6 separate regions of the Homo sapiens genome follow, and regions 2, 3, 4, 5 and 6 are each linked to region 1. Evidence: promoter capture Hi-C in 16 types of primary human blood cells and fetal thymus (Javierre and others, 2016). All regions are on one chromosome and are shown on one strand. Each heading gives the region's core, a stretch centred on a gene start or on the middle of the fragment in contact. The rest is flanking DNA. Distances are from core to core; before and after follow the strand shown.

Region 1 (2,700 bases), core at 93-2,592:
TTTGAATATTTAGGGAGGACCCCTCTGGGAAGGTGATATTTAAGCTTAGTTCTGAATGAAAAAAAATAAAAGCAGTCATGCAAAGATCAGGGGAGAGCATTCCAAGCAGAGGGAGCAGCTAATGCAAAGATGAACACAAAGGAGGCCACTGTGGCTACAGCATATTGGGCCGGATGAAGAGTGCTATAAATTGATGGAAGCACTTCATGTAGATAGGAAAATTGTGAGACCGGTGTGCTAAATCCTTTGGTAAATACGGTGTAGTGATTATGAGTGTGGTGGCTGTCAACAACTAGAAGGCCTGGAGGGGAATCTTCCTGGGTGAGAAAGCAAGTGGGGGGAGATATTTCAGATAGAGAAAACATAAAGCAGTTCTGAGGCTGAAATGGTGGGCTAAGATTTATGGCCTGAAGACCTTGGTTTGAGGAAAAGTATAGAAGGAAGACAGATTAGATATCTGGGCTCAAGACTCTAATGACATAGCTTCTGGAAGCTGCCTGAAAGATGTTCTAGGATGACAAAGACCTGGGTCTTAAATAATAGTCTCTGGTTGAAGTCCAATCTGCAGTGTGTGATCTGGGCTTTTGGACTTAAATTAGACAAAGATAGAGGAGAGTAGCAAAGCCTGAACTGATGAAAGATGTTTTTGCCTCTTTAGGTTTGTGCTTCTCAGCAGCTGTCCTAGAATGTCTGTCTCCAAGCATCTCTCTTAGCGGCTTTCCACATTCATCTCTCTGTGATCCTACCTGGCATCTCTCTTCCTATCTCGGCCTCAACATATTTCTCTTTACATGGCTCTCTCTCTCTCTAACTCAGACTCCTCATCTTTGGATCTCCTTGTCTGAGTGTCCCAGAATCTGGTTCCGTCCATTCGTCTGTGTCTGTACTGTAATTCTCTTTCTCCACCTGGACTGTGCCCTCCTGGAAGGCATGAATCTTTTATTATTCCGCTGGGTATCCCAGGTGCCCCGCACACCGTCTAGCATATAGGAGTCTCAAATACATTCATACTTGAATTAAGACTTTTTCAGAGGAGAAAGGCATCCGTTCTCAATATCCACCCCTCTTCCCCCACGCGGAGCAGGCCACTTGCCAAAAGGCCAGCTAGAGAGTAGGGCGAGGGGTGTTGTGGTATTGTACTTCTGCTATTGGTCTCTTTCCCCAGTTGAAATAACTCTGGGGATACCTTAGCAGGCGGAATCCGCCCTCTGGCCAAAGGACTAGCGTACCAGGCCACGCCCCCACGTCTCATGCGGCAGCGGCAGACGCCCCGGCCCGTCGCATCCGCCCCTTCCGCCGCTTCGCCTCGGCCAATCAACGAGCGCCCGCGCCCCCATCCCCATCCCGTGGAGTGGCCGGCGACAAGATGGCAGCAGCGTGTCGGAGCGTGAAGGTAGAAGGTTCTTTGCCTCTGTTGCTTGCCTTCCTTTACGGGCCGGGACAGCGCGGCCGTGGAACTAGGAGAAAGAGATCGGTTTCGAGGGAAAGGGTCATGCTTATGTAGGCCTGGTATTGTGGCCGTTGGGCTCAAGAGGTGAAAGTCAGCACTCCGCGGCGCATCTGTCTGTCTGTCTGTCTGTCTATCTATCTATCTATCAATCATCTATCTATCTATCGTCACGGGACGGGCTGTCTGGGGATGAGATCCCTTCTGCCCCCGAGGTCCCAACGCTGAGGAGAAGCAGCACACCTAGTTTACCCGCAGGGGTGACCACGACCTCTCCCCTCCCCCCTTCTCCTCAGAAGCCTGGAGAACAGGCAGGCGACAGCGTGGGGATGGTCTGGGCAATGTAACAGCTGACCCTGACCATGTCCCTTTTGACAGGGCCTGGTGGCGGTAATAACCGGAGGAGCCTCGGGCCTGGGCCTGGCCACGGCGGAGCGACTTGTGGGGCAGGGAGCCTCTGCTGTGCTTCTGGACCTGCCCAACTCGGGTGGGGAGGCCCAAGCCAAGAAGTTAGGAAACAACTGCGTTTTCGCCCCAGCCGACGTAAGTGGGGTCACCTCTCCTCTCCCAGGGTGTGCATGAGGTCACCAACACCGGCCTGGGAACCTGTGGGGGTCCCTCCCATAAGGGTCTCCTCTATGGGGGCGGTAGACCCATCTCCTTGTCTCTTTTGGCCTGAGCCTTCAAGCACTGTGGGACCACCTGTGATAAGGATTCTCTAAAGCTGGGATTCACAACAATGAGGATGGGGATTGGACGTAACAATCTCCTGGAGGAGTTATGTATGGTTTGAAAATGCATTTTGTGCCTTGTAATTTTATATTTACAAAGTCAAAAAACTTGTTTTCATGAAACAAACTACAGAAAGTGAAACTTGATGAAATCATCTTAGCAGGTAAGGATACAAAAAAGCTAGTTTATCTTCCTATCAATAATTCTCACAAGAGGGTTATTTTTTATTTTTATTTTTGAGATGGAGTCTCGCTCTGTTGCCCAGGCTGGAGTGCAGTGGCACAATCTCAGCTCCTTGCAACCTCCATCTTCTGGGTTCAAGCGATTTTCCTGCCTCAACCTCCCAAGTAGCTGGGATTACAGGCACCTGCCACCACGCCCAGCTAATTTTTTTTTTTGTATTTTTAGAAGAGATGGGGTTTCACCATGTTGGCCGGGCTGGTCTTGAACTCCTGATCTCACGTGATCCGCCCGCCTCGGCCTCCCAAAGTGCTGGGATTACAGGTGTGAGCCACTGCACC
Region 2 (2,700 bases), core at 9-2,508, 5.8 Mb after region 1:
GGTGGCTAACACCAGTAATCCTAGCACTTTGGGAGGCTGAGGTGGGTGGATTGCCTGAGCTCAGGAGTTCAAGACCAGCCTGGGCATCACGGTGAAACCCCATCTCTACTAAAATACAAAAAAATTAGCTGGGTGTGGCGGCGTGCGCCTGTAATCCCAGTTACTTGGGAGGCTGAGGCAGGAGAATTGCTTGAACCCAGGAGGCGGAGGTTGCAGTGAGCCAAGATTGCACCATGCACTCCAGCATGGGTGACAGAGCGAGACTCTGTCTCAAAAAAAAAAAAAAAAAAACCCAAGCTGGGGAGACAGACTATGTGAACAAAATAAATAAGTAAAATTAGCATAATAGACAAATGCTGAGAAGAAATAATGAAATAGGGCAGGTAGGAATCGAGTATTGGGGGTGGTTGAAATCTTAGGCATAGGGAAGGTGACTCTTGAATTAGGGCCTCACGGTAGAGACGGAGAGAGCCTTAATGTCTACGGGAAGAGCATACCAGGCAGAAGGAAGTGCCAGTTCAGAGGCCCTGAGGTGGGATGGTGCCTGCCATGTTCAAGGAACATCAAGGCGGCCAGTGTGGCTGGAGCAGAGTGCGGGGAAGGGTAGAAGGTGAGGTCACACAGGTGATGGGAGCCAGATAGTGCAGGTGATACATAGGATAGGATTGCAGGGGCAGGGGGAGAAGGATGACACACTAGCTAATAGCTAATATCTGTGGAGTATCTGCCACACATCAGAGGCACTTTTCTGTTCAAATACCAACCCCCAAAGGATGTTTACCACACGGTGGTGCCTGGAATGCACTACAAAAAGATACATGTGTCAAAGATATTTCTAAGAATGCCAGTTTATATATGAATAAGGATTTTCCTCCTTTTCAAAAGGATATGTTCACAAAACTGAGGTATGTAATATGCTCTATGGAGGCACAGGTATAAAAGCTGTTTCTAAGAGTGCTAGTTGTATATGTGAATAAGGACTGTGTTGTTGCATTGAAAGAATGTGTTCACAAAACTGTGGTGTATAGCTGGGCACAGAGGCTGAGGTGGGAGGATCACTTGAGCCCAGGAGTTCCAGGCCAGCCTGTGCAACATAGTGAGATCCCCGTCTCCGAAAAAAAACCCAAAAAATAACCACTGTGGTGTGCATAATACACTCTCCTAAAGGCACAGGCATAAAAGATGTTTCTAAGAGTGATTTGATTTTCTGGCACCTGGGTAGTGTTATTTCAGTAAATATTCATTGTTAAACACTATGGTGCTTGGAATATACTATACAAAGGCACATGTATAAAAAAGAAGTTCCTAACAATGCTACTTGTAAAAACAAAAAAAAAAGTCAACCCCTCAAGTCTTTTACAGAAGTATTTTACAGAATTGACACAGTTAATCCTCACAGAAGCCTTGGAGGGTAGGTGTACTTTTGAGAATATTTGACTTTGAGAGTAAAATATCCCCATTTTACAGATGAGGAAACAAGCAAAGAGAGGCTGAGTAACTTGCTCAGGGTAACCTTGAGCCAGAATAGCCAGAACAGGGGCAGAGGAACATAAGGCTGAAGACTCAGAAAGAAGAACAGATTTGCAAGGGCAGGCAGGTTATTTGGCACCTTTGATCACGCAGAGGAAGAATGAATTCTTCCTGGAATGCGATGATTGTGTAATTGAGTCCATGAAGTGAGGGAAGAGCTCTCCCTGCGGGGAGAGCAGCCCGTGCTTACCCTCAGAGGTTGGAACTGTCTCGGGAACGGTAGATAGTTCAGGGTGGCTGCCTCAGAGCCTTTGTACACGCCGTTCGCTCCGCCTGAAGGCCCTCCCCCACAGAGGGCAGCCTGGCTTGCTACCTCCCCTCCTTCAGGCCAGGTGTCACTTCCTTGGGGAAGAACTCCTTGTACACCCTGTGTAAAAACAGCATTCCTGTCACTCTCTAGGATCTTACCCTTCTCTGTTTCTCTTCATGGAGAACTGGTGGTGTAAGGCGATTGCTCACTAGAGCCAAACCACTTAGGTTTTGAATTCCGGCTCTGCCAACTTCCAGCTGTGTGACTTGGGGCAGGTTACTTCTCTGTACCTCCATTGCCTCATGTGGAAAATGGGGGAAATGATAATCCCCACCCTTTAACGGTGGTTTGAGGATTCAATGAGTTAAATGATTCAAAGAGTGTGCAGCCCACGGTAAGGATCGTATGCCTGGCTTGCATTTTTAAATTATTAAAATGTATTCATAGCATACCCGTAGATGTCTGACAGGCCTCTGAAACTGACCATCTCCAAAACTGGTGTGACCCCCCTCAAAACTTACTCTCCTGCAAGGCTCCCACCTCAGCTGACCACAATGCTGTCTTTGTGGGTGATTAGGCCACAAACCTAGACTCACCCTGGACCCTTCTCTCACCTCCCCCGGGCATGCTATCTGTCAGCAAGTCCTATTCTGTGTTCAGGCTTTCTCCAGACCCCAGCTACTTCTCGCCAGCCCCACTGCTACCACCATCATCTACCGCAGTGGCTTCTTCAGCCCCAACAGTCTGTTCTTCTCACAACCGCCAGGGGGATCCTGTTGAAATCTCAGTCACAGCCTGTCATCCCTCTGTTCACAACCCTCTTGTGGCTCCTGTCTCACTCAACATCCTGACAGCACCCGAAAAAGCCTGGCTCAGTCTGGCCCCCGTCACTCTGTTCTCCTCTCCCGCTGCCTCCCTCC
Region 3 (2,700 bases), core at 104-2,603, 5.9 Mb after region 1:
ACGTTTGAGGCAGCCACCCATGTGGATACCTGGGGGGAAAGTGTACCAGGCAGAGGGAGCAGCCAGCATGCAGATCCTGTGGTGGGCTTGGGCACAGAGTACTCAAGGAAGTGTGAGGATGCCAGTGTGGCTAAAGCAGAGGAAGTGCAGGGGCGAGTGGAATCATTCTAGAGGTAAGTGCCATGGTGAGCCCCACTGGACTGAAAGGGAAACCAAGGCAGAGTGTGTGGGCTGAGTGGGGTGAGGACTCACCGAGGTCGGAATTGCAGAAGGCCGTCTGTGGGTGGGGTGGGACACAGGTGCAGGCCCTGCTGGGGGCTATCAGCCACAGCAACAACAGGATGCCAGAAGCCAGGGGCTCAAAGGGGGCCATGGTGGGTTCTGTGGGGAAGGGGGATGTCAGGCAGGCCCCGGCCCAGCTGATCTGCTGACCTGGGCAGGTCATCCACCCCATCTTGCCCCGGGGCAGCCTATGGGGGGGATTAGGGGGCTGGATTTGGGCTTGAGGGGTTGGTAAGCTTAGGGATTTTAAGGGGATTGGGGAGCGCAGAGGAATTTAGGGTTTAGAGAGTTGGGAGAGTTTAAATTATTGAGGGACTGAGTGAGTTGCGGGGTTATGGGGTTGTGGCACTTGGGGGAGAAGGGGGCTGAGGAAGTTTGAGGAATGAGGGGATTGGGGAATTCTGGAGGTTGAGGAGTTTGGGGGTGAGGAATTTGGGATTGGGGGCTGGAGGAGTTTGGAGACGGCAGAGTTTAGGGGTTGTGTATATTAAGAGATATAAGAGGCTGGGGGAATTTAGGGAGGTTGAGGAATTTGGAGGAGGTTGGGGGTTTAGGGAGCTGGGGGAGTTTGGAGGTTGAAGGGGTTGGGGGAATTTGGGGGCTTAAGGCAATGGGGATACTTGAGGAATTTGAGGGCAAAAGAAGTTTGGGAGCTGGGGAACTGGGGATTGGGGAGCTGGGGGAGTTTAGGGAGCTGCAGGGGTTAGCGGTGGGTATTTAGGGGGCGATGAGGGAAATTTCGGGATGAAGGAATTTGCGGGGGGATTTGGAAAGCATTTGTGATATTAGGGGGTCATGGGTTTGGGGGAATTGGGGGCGGATGTCAGGGGTTCTAGGGAGTTTGGAGCCTCGGGGTTGGGAAAGCAGTTCCAGCCTCCGACCCTCTTCCCCCTAGACTAGCCCAGGGTCCTGGTACCCGCAGGCCAAGCTGAGTAGACAGGCATCTGGCACGGGAGTGCACGGGCCTGGTGGCCAGCACCCAAGCTGCAGCCCAGCTCCGGTCCCTGCTGGGCCACCCCGGGCCCTGCTTACCTCTGGTGTCTCTCTGGGCGCTGGATCTGCGGCGATGGCGGCAGGGCCTGAGCGCTAGAGGATAAATGTCCACGCTAGGGGCGGGGGTGGCAGCGGGTGCGGAAACCACAGGCCTCCAGGCTTCCTGGATGCATTACTCATCCACCCACCATCAGTGCAGAAGCCAAGGGGCGGGCCGACGAAAGGAGATACACCCTCCTCCTCTCCCACCCGCCTCCTCTCCCTCTCCCTGGGCCTCGCCCGGGCCAGCCACCTCCCCCACCTCCACGTCAGTCACTATTCCTTCCAAGCCGCCTCAGCGGAGAGCTTAGAGGCCGCATTTCCCCCGGCCCAGTCCCCTAAAGTCTCCAGAATCTATCCAATCACCCACATCCCCCAAGCTCCCTATGACTCAAACCCAAATTAGTTCAGCCCTTCAACATTTATTGTGCATCTACTGTGTGCCAAGCACACAAAAATCCCTTGTTTTGTATGTCTGACATGCTGGTGAGGGGTGGCAGAGAGGAAACAAATTAAGTAGCAGCAGTGGAGGGAGATAAGGCAGGTGAAAGGGGAGGAATACAAAATGGGGAAACTGAGGCACGGAGTGGTTAAGTGACTTACCCAGGATCACAGAGTCAATACATGGCAGAACTGAGACTGGAACTCAGGTGGCCAGGAGCCAAAGCCAGGGTCTCAAATAACACAGGCAAATAGCCGGCATTTATACAGCACCTACTGTATACCAGGCACTCAGCATAGTTTATCTCACTCAAAGCTCACAACAAATCTCTGAGATGGGTACCGGTTCTTATTCCCGTTTTACGGATGAGGAAATATGGGGCGTAGAGGAACTGTAGAATTTTCCTAAGATCACAGGGCATGGCCGGGATTCAAACAGAGGCTACCTGGCACCAGGGTTGTAACTCAGGAGTGGCACCGTCCTAGCAAGCAGGGAATGGTGCGGGTGAATGAATGAGCATTGGGAAGGGGGTGGCCATGAATGATGGTGAAAGAAGCAAGTGAGTGGGTCAGTAGAAAACTAATCCCCACCCCATCCTGCCCTGCCCCCTCCCCATGGACCTGTACCCCTGGTGGGGGGTGGGGTGGGGCAATCCTTGCCCACCAGCTTTCTGACAATGCAGGAACCTTCCCTGGGGTTCTGATTAACATCCTTAATTCGAGGAGGATAGATCAATAATAATAATTGTAGTGATGATGGCAGCCACTTATTGAGCACTTTCTGTGTACTATGTGCTAAAGTGTTTGTATAAATTATCTCATTCACTCACCATACTCCCTTGCTAATTAAGTTTGATTAACTCAGGGATGATAGCCCAATAACAAGAACACAACAAAAACTACCAGCAGCCCTTATGGAGTGCTTACTGCGTATCCAGCACTATT
Region 4 (2,700 bases), core at 83-2,582, 6.2 Mb after region 1:
GCTCACAGCAGCCTTGACCTCCCAGGTTGAAACGATCCTCCCACCTCAGCCTCCCGAATAGCTGGGACAGCAGGCACATGCCACCACACCCGGCTAATTTTTAAGATTTGTTGTAGAGACAGGGTCTTGCTATGTTGCCTAGGCTGGTCTTGAACTCCTGGGCTCAAACAAACCTCACTCCTTGGCCTCCTGAGTGCTGAGATTATAGGTGTCAGCCGCCATGCCCAGCCTAAAAATGTATTAAGATCTGAGTGCCAGGCGAGGTGGCTCACGCCTGTATTCCCAGCACTTTGGAAGGCTGAGGCAGGAGAATCGCTTGAACCTGGGAGGCGGAGGCTGCAGTGAGCCGAGACTGCGCCACTGCACTCCAACCTGGGCAACATGAGCAAAACTCCACCTCAAAAAAAAAAAAAAAAAAATCTGTGTACCTTATTCTAGATATGTTATGCCTCCATAAAAAATAAAAACTTCAATTAGGTATATCTTACCACAGTTTTTTAAAACACAAAAAACTCAGACCAAACCAACAATGATCCCTATCCAGGCCCTGAGGACTTGGCAGAAAACAAGACAGAGGCCGGACACAGAGGCTTACACATGTAATCCCAGCACTTTTGGAGGCTGAGGCAGGTGGATCACTTGAGCCCAGGAGTTTACAACCAGCCTGGTCAACGTAACGGGCACGCGTGCGTGCGCACACACACACACACACACGTACACACACTTACACGTACACACAGACACTTACACACACACACACACACACGTACAGACACTTCCCAGGAGTTGGAAGGTTGCAGTGAGCTATGATTGTGCCAATACACTTCAGCCTGAATGGCAGAATGAGACCTGTCTCAAAAAATAAAATAGCAAACAAGACAGAACTTCTGGCCTCTGAGAATTCCTAGGACAGTTCGCAGTCATTAGCGAGGTGGTTTGGAGTGTACAGATGTTAGAAATTCAGGTTCAGATTCCAGCTATGCCACGTATTACCTAGTTTTGTGACTTCAGGCACACAGGATAACATCTTTACCTCTGTGCCTTGTCTCTAAAACAGGTGTTACAACAGTGATACCTACCTTCATGGGGTTGCTAGGAAGAAATGAGCAAATACATATATATTTAAAGCTTGGTTAAAACAGTGCCAGGCACACAGTAAATGCCAAGTGGTTCACAATAGTCCTGTGAGGTAGATGCTGTCATTCCCATTTTACAGAACAGGAATCTGCGGCACAGAGAGGTTAAGTTCAAGGTTACACATGACCTAGCAAGACTGTGGTTGGTGCACAAATACAAACATACCCACTCTGGAACTGCAGTGTCAGAAGGGAGAAAGTGACAGATGGAACTGTTTTTTTTTTCCCTTCCCTATTTTGTTCCCACCCTCATACTCCTACTATTCTAAATGGTTTGGCCTCAAACACTGCACTAAGAATTATTCTGACAGCACAATGGTAATCCCTAGGTTCTGTTTCTTGGCCCAGGTGGTGGTCACCTGTGTGTTCACTTTGTAAAACTTCAGCTAGATCAAGCTTGTCTAACCTGTGGCCCATATGCAGCCCAGGATGACTTTGAATGCTGCCCAACACAAATTTGTAAATTTTCTTAAGACATTATGAGATTTATGCACGGATCTTTTTTTCTTTTATTTTTTCAGCTCATCAGCTATCGTTAGTATTAGTATATTTTATGTGTGGCCCGAGACAATTCTTCTTCCAATGTGGCCCAGGGAAGCCAAATGATTGGACACCCCGAGCTAGATAATATATGCACTGTTCTGTAGATAAATGCACCATACACACAGAATCATCCTGACAAACCAGCTGTTAAACTCATTTTGAGTAACAGCTGGGGAAAACCTGAATATGGACCATTAGAGACAAATAAATAACTAGAAGAGATGGTAAGAATGATTGTTAATTTTGCTGAGCATGAAAATGATGTTTCTGTTAGACAGAAGTAGTTCTCAACTGGGAGTGATGTGGCACCCCTGGGGACATCTGGCAATGTCTGGAGACATTTTGAGATGTCATGATGGAGGGAGAGTGCTATTGGCATCTAGTGGGCAGAAGTCAGGAATGCTGAGAAACATCCTACAGTGCACAGGGCATCCCCTCTCCCATGACAAATAAATAACCAGCCCCAAATGTCAGTAGTGCTGAAGCTAAGAAACCCTGTTCTACAGCAACATATCCTCACTTGGCAGAGGCACTGAAATAGTAGGGAGTAAAGGGCTGTGATGTCTGTGACACATTTAAGCACAAAGAAGAAAAATCTACATAAATCTAAGAAGAAAATGTGGCAAAACATTAAGAATTGTTAAATTTAGGTGAGGAATGGTATTTGAGTATTCATCATAATATTCTTAATATTTGTCTATGTGTTGAAAAAAAAATCAAAATAAAAGTGAAAAAAGAATGAGTCATTCTAGAAACCTAGGCTGCCTGGTGGGAAGTGAGGGAGGGAGGTTTGGAGAAAAGGCACATCTTACACTTAGGCATGCAACATCTGAAGGCAAGGCAAGGGCCTGGGGGCGGAGAGGCAGCAGCCTGGCCAGATGCCTGGCCTCTTTCCCTTCTCCCACAGCTTATCACCTGCAGGGTGTGCTCGATGGCATTAGGGAAGTTCTTCAGGGTACAGATGGGGATGGACTTCTCAGGTGGGTCCTGGCTGGAACTGTACGACTCTGTCAGGAAGGGG
Region 5 (2,700 bases), core at 107-2,606, 6.6 Mb after region 1:
CCCTACATTATAAAATGCTACTATCGAGTATGACTAACAGAGAATAAAGGTACCATGTGACCCAAGAAGGGTGTGTATGAGAAGTAGGGGCAGAAAGACGGGGCTGAGAAAAGCTGCAAAAAGCTTTCAATTTCCTAACTCTGACTCTTAGAGACCAGAGCTTACCTGAATACATTCTGCTGGGGATTGGAAATCATGCAGAAAGGTCTGTGATTCCAAAACGTTAATACATTTATTATAAAGTAATCTTGGGTAAAGATATGTTGCCTTAAGCAAAGAGTTAACTGTTCATAATACCCATTTGAAAAATCTCTCATTTTGTTTGGGAGAAATAATTGATAAGTCCATCAAAGTAGTTTAGTAAGCACAAATGGAGAACTATGTAGAAAGAGGAACTATTATGAAATGTATGACCGAGTGTGTTTTGTGTAAGACTAATGGAGGTTTTCAAAGGTTTTTCGTTTCTGGCTATATACAAAAATAAAAATAAGGGCGTTTTCATTCATTTAAACCAGCAGTAAAATACTGCCTGGTTTATGCCGCTTATTTTCACCTTACAGTCTTAATACACATTCCAAGACTGATGCGATATTCATTATTTCTTTCGGATAACTGGAAGAGGAGGGGGAGTAAAGCTGTACATTAAACAGTCCACTTGGTAATTGAGAAAATTCAGCAGTGAAATATATCATGAGGCACCAAAGAGATTTGCCGGGGAGGGCAGACAAAAGAGAAAACAGCCACAGAACATTAAGCCCCGGAAGAGATGAGAATCGGTCCCATATACGTAACTCGACGACTGGACAAAACCCCGCTTGACGCTGCCGGTGGGTGAAACGAGGTGATTTGAGATTCAGGGCGTTCTCGGCTCTTTCCCTCTCTCGAATCGATCATCTCCAACAGGAAGTCAGAGCAAGGCAGGGTTCGGAGTCAGAGAAAGCTCCCGGGGGAGTCTGTCTACCACGACAACAAACTCCTAAGGCTCCTTCCGGAGCTCCACAGCCCTCTGGGCGGCCTCTCTAGCGCTGTACTTCACGTCCCCGCTCCCCAAAAAAGTCGTGCACCCCGACTTCAGCTATCCGCGTTCAAGAGAGTGCGGCAGCAGTTGGGTCGGCCCCCTCAGCGGTCCCGGGCCGTAAGGGACCTGGCGGAGCGGCTCAGGGAGGCTGAGACGGCGGCTACACGACTTTCATTACCTTCTCGCGCTGATCCCAGCTGTACTGCTTTGGCCGCTCCTCCTCGTTCTCGGGCCGCGACTCCTTGTCAGCCTTCCGTCTCTTGGAGAAGAAGCAGCCCATGGTCCCAGCCCGCGGAGCTCGTTGGCCAGCTCACTAGCTCAGGCACTTCCTAGAGTGTGGCGTGAACCCTGGGAACCCCGGCCTCGCAGCTCTCCGGACAACGCCCCGCGGAACCGCCCAACGGTCCGCAGCCTTAGTTTGCCCGCCAGGCCCAGCACCCCTTCCCCTTTTTCGTCGCCCTGACGACCCAGCGCAGCCAATGAACGCTCAGCGCCTGTTGAGCCAATCAAAGCCTCTCGAGCAATCCTGCGCGGCCTATGAAGAGAGGCCGACATACCCACATACCAATCCACGCCTGGCTCCTGCGACAGCCCCTGGCGGCGGGGCGGGCCGGCTCTGGCGCAAGCACGGACAACCCCGCCCACAGCTGTGGCACGGACCGCCCTCGGCCCCGCCCCTCCTGGAACTTGGTGGGTTCTCTAGCTGGTGGGAGGCCAGGCTCGGTATCCGGGTTTTTTTTGCCCCTGATTCATAAATTTGCAAGTTCAAGGCGCGGGAGAGATCTCTAGTTGAACATTAGATTTATCTTATGATGAAAGTTGTGAGGGACAGAAATTCCCGCTGACACAAGAAGACCCTGAAATTTGTATTTCTAAATCCTCTTCTCCCCTCATCACCCTTCCTACCGCCCTCTCATCGCCTGGCCAGGGTCACCCCCTCAAGAATTGTACCCCATAACCTCCCAATCCTCTTCTGTGCTCTTTCTTTCTTTCTTTCTTTCTTTCTTTCTTTCTTTCTTTCTTTCTTTCTTTCTTTCTTTCTTTTTCTTTCACAGGGTCTCGCTATGTCACTCAGGCTGCAGTGGCACAATCATAACTCACTGCAACCTTGCAACTTTGCAACCTTGACTTCCTGGGCTCAAGCGATCCTCCTGCCTCAGCCTCCTTCCTGAGTAGCTGGAACTACAAGCAAGCACCACCATGCCCACCTATTTTTTTTTTTTTTTACTTTTGTAGAAATGGGGTCTTGCTATGTCGCCCAGGCTGGTCTTGAACTCCTGGGCCCAAGCGATCATCCTGCCTCAGCCTCTCAAGGTGCTGGGATTACAGGCAGGACCCACCGCACCCCAGGCTGCTTCTGTGTTTTCTTAAGACTTTCACATATGGCTCTAAAATTGCACAAGTACTTAGTAAAATAGTTAATTGTGTATTGTTTCCCTATTTGAACTGTGACTTTCTTGAGATCAAAAAGGTATATCTTTTTTTTTTTTTTTTTTTTTTGATGGAGTTTTTGCTCTTGTCGCCCAGGCTGGAGTGCAGCAGTGCCATCTCGGCTCACTGCAACCTCCGCCTCCCGGGTTCAAGTGATTATCCTGCCTCAGCCTCCAGAGTAGCTGGGACTGCAGGCGCCTGCCACTACGCCCGGCTAATTTTTGTATTTTTAGTAGAGACGGGGTTTCACC
Region 6 (2,700 bases), core at 91-2,590, 6.3 Mb after region 1:
CAGGCTGATCTCAAACCCCTGATCTTAAGTGATCCACCTACCTTGGCCTCCCAGAGTGCTGGGATTACAAGCATGAGCCACTGTGCCTGGCTAAGAATAATTCTGTGAACATTCTTGTACACATCTTTTGATAGACATATGTACTCATTTCTTGGGTATATAACCTAGGAATGGAATTGCTAAGTCATTGCGTAGACATGTGACCAATCAGCTTCAGTAAATCATGCCAATTTTCCAATCTACACTTTCCCAGAGTTGACTCCCCATCATTCGGCATTTCCCATCTTTTTCACTGCAGCCATTCTGGCGGATGACTAACCTTTTTTTTTTTCTTTTCTTGAGACAGGGTCTCACTCTGTTGCCCAGGCTGGAATGCAGTGGCATGATCTCGGCTCTCTGCAACCTCCTTCTCCCAGGTTCAAACGATTCTCCTGCCTCAGCCTCCTGAGTAGCTGGAACTACAGGCACCCACCACCACGCCCGGCTAATTTTGTTTGTATTTTTTTTTTAGTAGAGACAGGGTTTCACCATGTTGGCCAGGCTGGGGATGACTGACCTTTTAAGGACCACATTGGGATGAAGAGGGAGGGAGTGCCTACTGAGTGCCAAGCCCCAACAGTGTGCCAGGCACTGGCGGATATCAGGGTCCCTGCCCTTAGGAATTTCCCAGGATGAGGGCAGAGGCTGGTGTGAGTGATCAGAGACCTTAATACAATGTTTTCACCCTACTGTTCGACCCCAGGGACCTTTGAACTTTCATATTTTGGACGCAACTTTGTTCTGCCCACATAATAGATACTGGCCTCCTTTATCCTTCAATCTAATAGGACATCACCCAGAAAATAAAAATAGAACATCTTACCAGATTAACAGTGACTATTACCAATAAACATAAGCACCACAGAATAAACTGACAGCAGCCAAAACTGTGAACCTGAAACTGTGTTGAGGGAAAATTGATGGAAGTTTTTGATGTTCTCAACAAAATGTGGACCTGCAAATTTTGATCCTGAAATATTAGACTCAATGGAAACTGTCCACAAATAAAGCTCAGAATGACAGGAGGTATTCATTCAACAAATATTTATTGAAGTGCCTACAGGGTCCTAGGCACTGTTCCTGTTGTTTTGTTTTTATTTTTGTTTTGAGATAGGGTCTTGCTCTGTTGGTCAGGCTGGAGTGCAGTGGCATGACTATGGCTCACTGCAGCCTGGACCCTGGACTGAAGCGATCCTCCTGCCCAGGCACTGTTACAGGCAAAGGGGATACAGCAGGGAACAAAAGATTTAAAAATGCCCGCCCTCATGGAGCCTGTATTCCAGCTGGGAGAGACAGAAAATAAACAGCACAATTTGTGTGTTATATGTATGTAGGGAAGTGATAAGTATGGATTAAGTTAAAAATAAATCCAGAGGCTGGGTGTGGTGGCTCACGCCTGTAATCCCAGCACTTTGGGAGGCTGAGGTGGGCAGATCACTTGAGGCCAGGAGCCTGAGGCCAGCCTGGGCAACTGGGCTGGGCATGGTGTCACACGCCTGTAATTCCAGCTACTCGGAAGGCTGAGGTGGAGAATTGCTGGAGCACGGGAGGCAAAGGTTGCAGTGAGCTGAGATCGGGCCACTGCACTCCAGCCTGGGTGACCGAGCAAGACCCTATCCCAAAAATAAATAAATAAGTAAATCTGGTAAGGGGGGTGTCAGGGAGTTGGGGGGAGAGGAGAACCTGAATTTAAATAGGATAGTCAGCAAAGGTGATTACTTGAAGGAAAAAAATGTGAAGGAAGCCAGAGATGAACTACACAGATGCAAGAGCATTTCTGGCAGAAGGAACAATAAGTACCAAGTTCCAGAAGCAAGAATGTATGTGCCTGAGATGGTCAAGGAGCAGCCTGAGGCCAAGGAGCTATCTGAGGGAAGCTGTTACTGCTTGAATTTGACACAGATAAGAGAATCAATGTATGGATTGAATCATCGTTGCAAAAATTAACCAGAAAATGATCACGATGAAAATAACTTCAGAGAAATGAGACAGCCAAAATTGGTTTTGGGTTAACTGCACCACTGTATGGCATTGATCAAGGAATTAAATTGGCTCAGGAGAATTCACTCCGGTTCAAAGTTGCTCAGTAAAAATTCACCTGAGTTGAGTTGGTCTAATTCCAATTTTTTTTTAAATTTTTTTTTTTTTGAGACAGAGTCTTGCTCTGTCACCAGGCTGGAGTGCAGTGGTGGCACAATCTCGGCTCACCGCAATCTCTGTCTCCCGGGTTCAAGTGATTCTCCTGCCTCAGCCTCCCGAGTAGCTGGGACTACAGGTGCGTGCCACTACACCCAGCTAATTTTTGTATTTTTAGTAGAGACAGTTTCACTATGTTGGCCAGGATGGTCTCCATCTCTTGACTTTGTGATCTGCCTGCCTCGGCCTCCCAAAGTGTTGGAATTACAGGTGTGAGCCACCGCCCCGGCCTTTTTTTTTTTTTTTTTTTTTGAGATGGAGTATCGCTCTGTCGCCCTGGCTGGAGTACAGTGGCAAGATCTTGGCTCACTGCAACCTCCACCTCCCGAGTTCAAGCGATTCTTGTGCCTCAGCTGACAGAGTAGCTGGGACTACAGTCGTGCACTACCATGCCTGGCTAATTTTTTGTATTTTTAGTAGGGACAGGGTTTTACCATGTTGCCCAGGCTGGTCTCAAACTCCTGG

What was found. Contacts are between HindIII fragments. The CHiCAGO score rates a contact against its expected background, and 5 or more counts as called.
Region 2: a fragment that was not itself captured here is called in contact with the fragment with the promoter of HSD17B10 in region 1 in 1 of 17 cell types (neutrophils); the score reaches 5.8 in neutrophils.
Region 3: a contact is called between the fragment with the promoter of TIMP1 here and the fragment with the promoter of HSD17B10 in region 1, in 1 of 17 cell types (neutrophils). The highest score is 5.7, in neutrophils.
Region 4: a fragment that was not itself captured here is called in contact with the fragment with the promoter of HSD17B10 in region 1 in 1 of 17 cell types (neutrophils); the score reaches 6.2 in neutrophils.
Region 5: a contact is called between the fragment with the promoter of RP2 here and the fragment with the promoter of HSD17B10 in region 1, in 1 of 17 cell types (neutrophils). The highest score is 5.9, in neutrophils.
Region 6: a fragment that was not itself captured here is called in contact with the fragment with the promoter of HSD17B10 in region 1 in 1 of 17 cell types (neutrophils); the score reaches 8.7 in neutrophils.

The regions. Positions count from the first base shown.
Region 1 is chrX:53,433,012-53,435,711 of GRCh38, reverse strand. HSD17B10 (hydroxysteroid 17-beta dehydrogenase 10) reads left to right here and starts at 1,342. Exons shown (of 6, transcript NM_004493.3): 1 at 1,342-1,393; 2 at 1,826-1,990. The coding sequence starts at 1,367. The HindIII fragment of the contact is 11,572 bases long and covers 47-2,700 here.
Region 2 is chrX:47,644,752-47,647,451 of GRCh38, reverse strand. All of the region lies in intron 2 of ELK1 (ETS transcription factor ELK1), which reads left to right. Among named protein-coding and RNA genes, the nearest start is that of ELK1, 4.5 kb to the left of the region's middle. The HindIII fragment of the contact is 5,498 bases long and covers 1-2,700 here.
Region 3 is chrX:47,581,089-47,583,788 of GRCh38, reverse strand. It overlaps TIMP1 (TIMP metallopeptidase inhibitor 1), which reads right to left and starts at 1,353. Exons shown (of 6, transcript NM_003254.3): 1 at 1,315-1,353; 2 at 253-381. The coding sequence starts at 373. The region is part of intron 5 of SYN1 (synapsin I); the gene reads left to right. RefSeq lists silencers at 1,396-1,495, 1,556-1,705. The HindIII fragment of the contact is 9,422 bases long and covers 521-2,700 here.
Region 4 is chrX:47,206,339-47,209,038 of GRCh38, reverse strand. UBA1 (ubiquitin like modifier activating enzyme 1) reads right to left here. Exons shown (of 26, transcript NM_003334.4): 16 at 2,595-2,700. The region is part of intron 2 of LOC105373194 (a long non-coding RNA gene); the gene reads left to right. Among named protein-coding and RNA genes, the nearest start is that of INE1, 2.8 kb to the right of the region's middle. The HindIII fragment of the contact is 404 bases long and covers 1,131-1,534 here.
Region 5 is chrX:46,835,699-46,838,398 of GRCh38, reverse strand. It overlaps RP2 (RP2 activator of ARL3 GTPase), which reads right to left and starts at 1,356. Exons shown (of 5, transcript NM_006915.3): 1 at 1,197-1,356. The coding sequence starts at 1,298. RefSeq lists an enhancer at 1,225-1,364 and a silencer at 1,675-1,754. The HindIII fragment of the contact is 11,862 bases long and covers 126-2,700 here.
Region 6 is chrX:47,136,270-47,138,969 of GRCh38, reverse strand. No RefSeq gene overlaps it. Among named protein-coding and RNA genes, the nearest start is that of NDUFB11, 7.1 kb to the left of the region's middle. The HindIII fragment of the contact is 4,112 bases long and covers 1-2,700 here.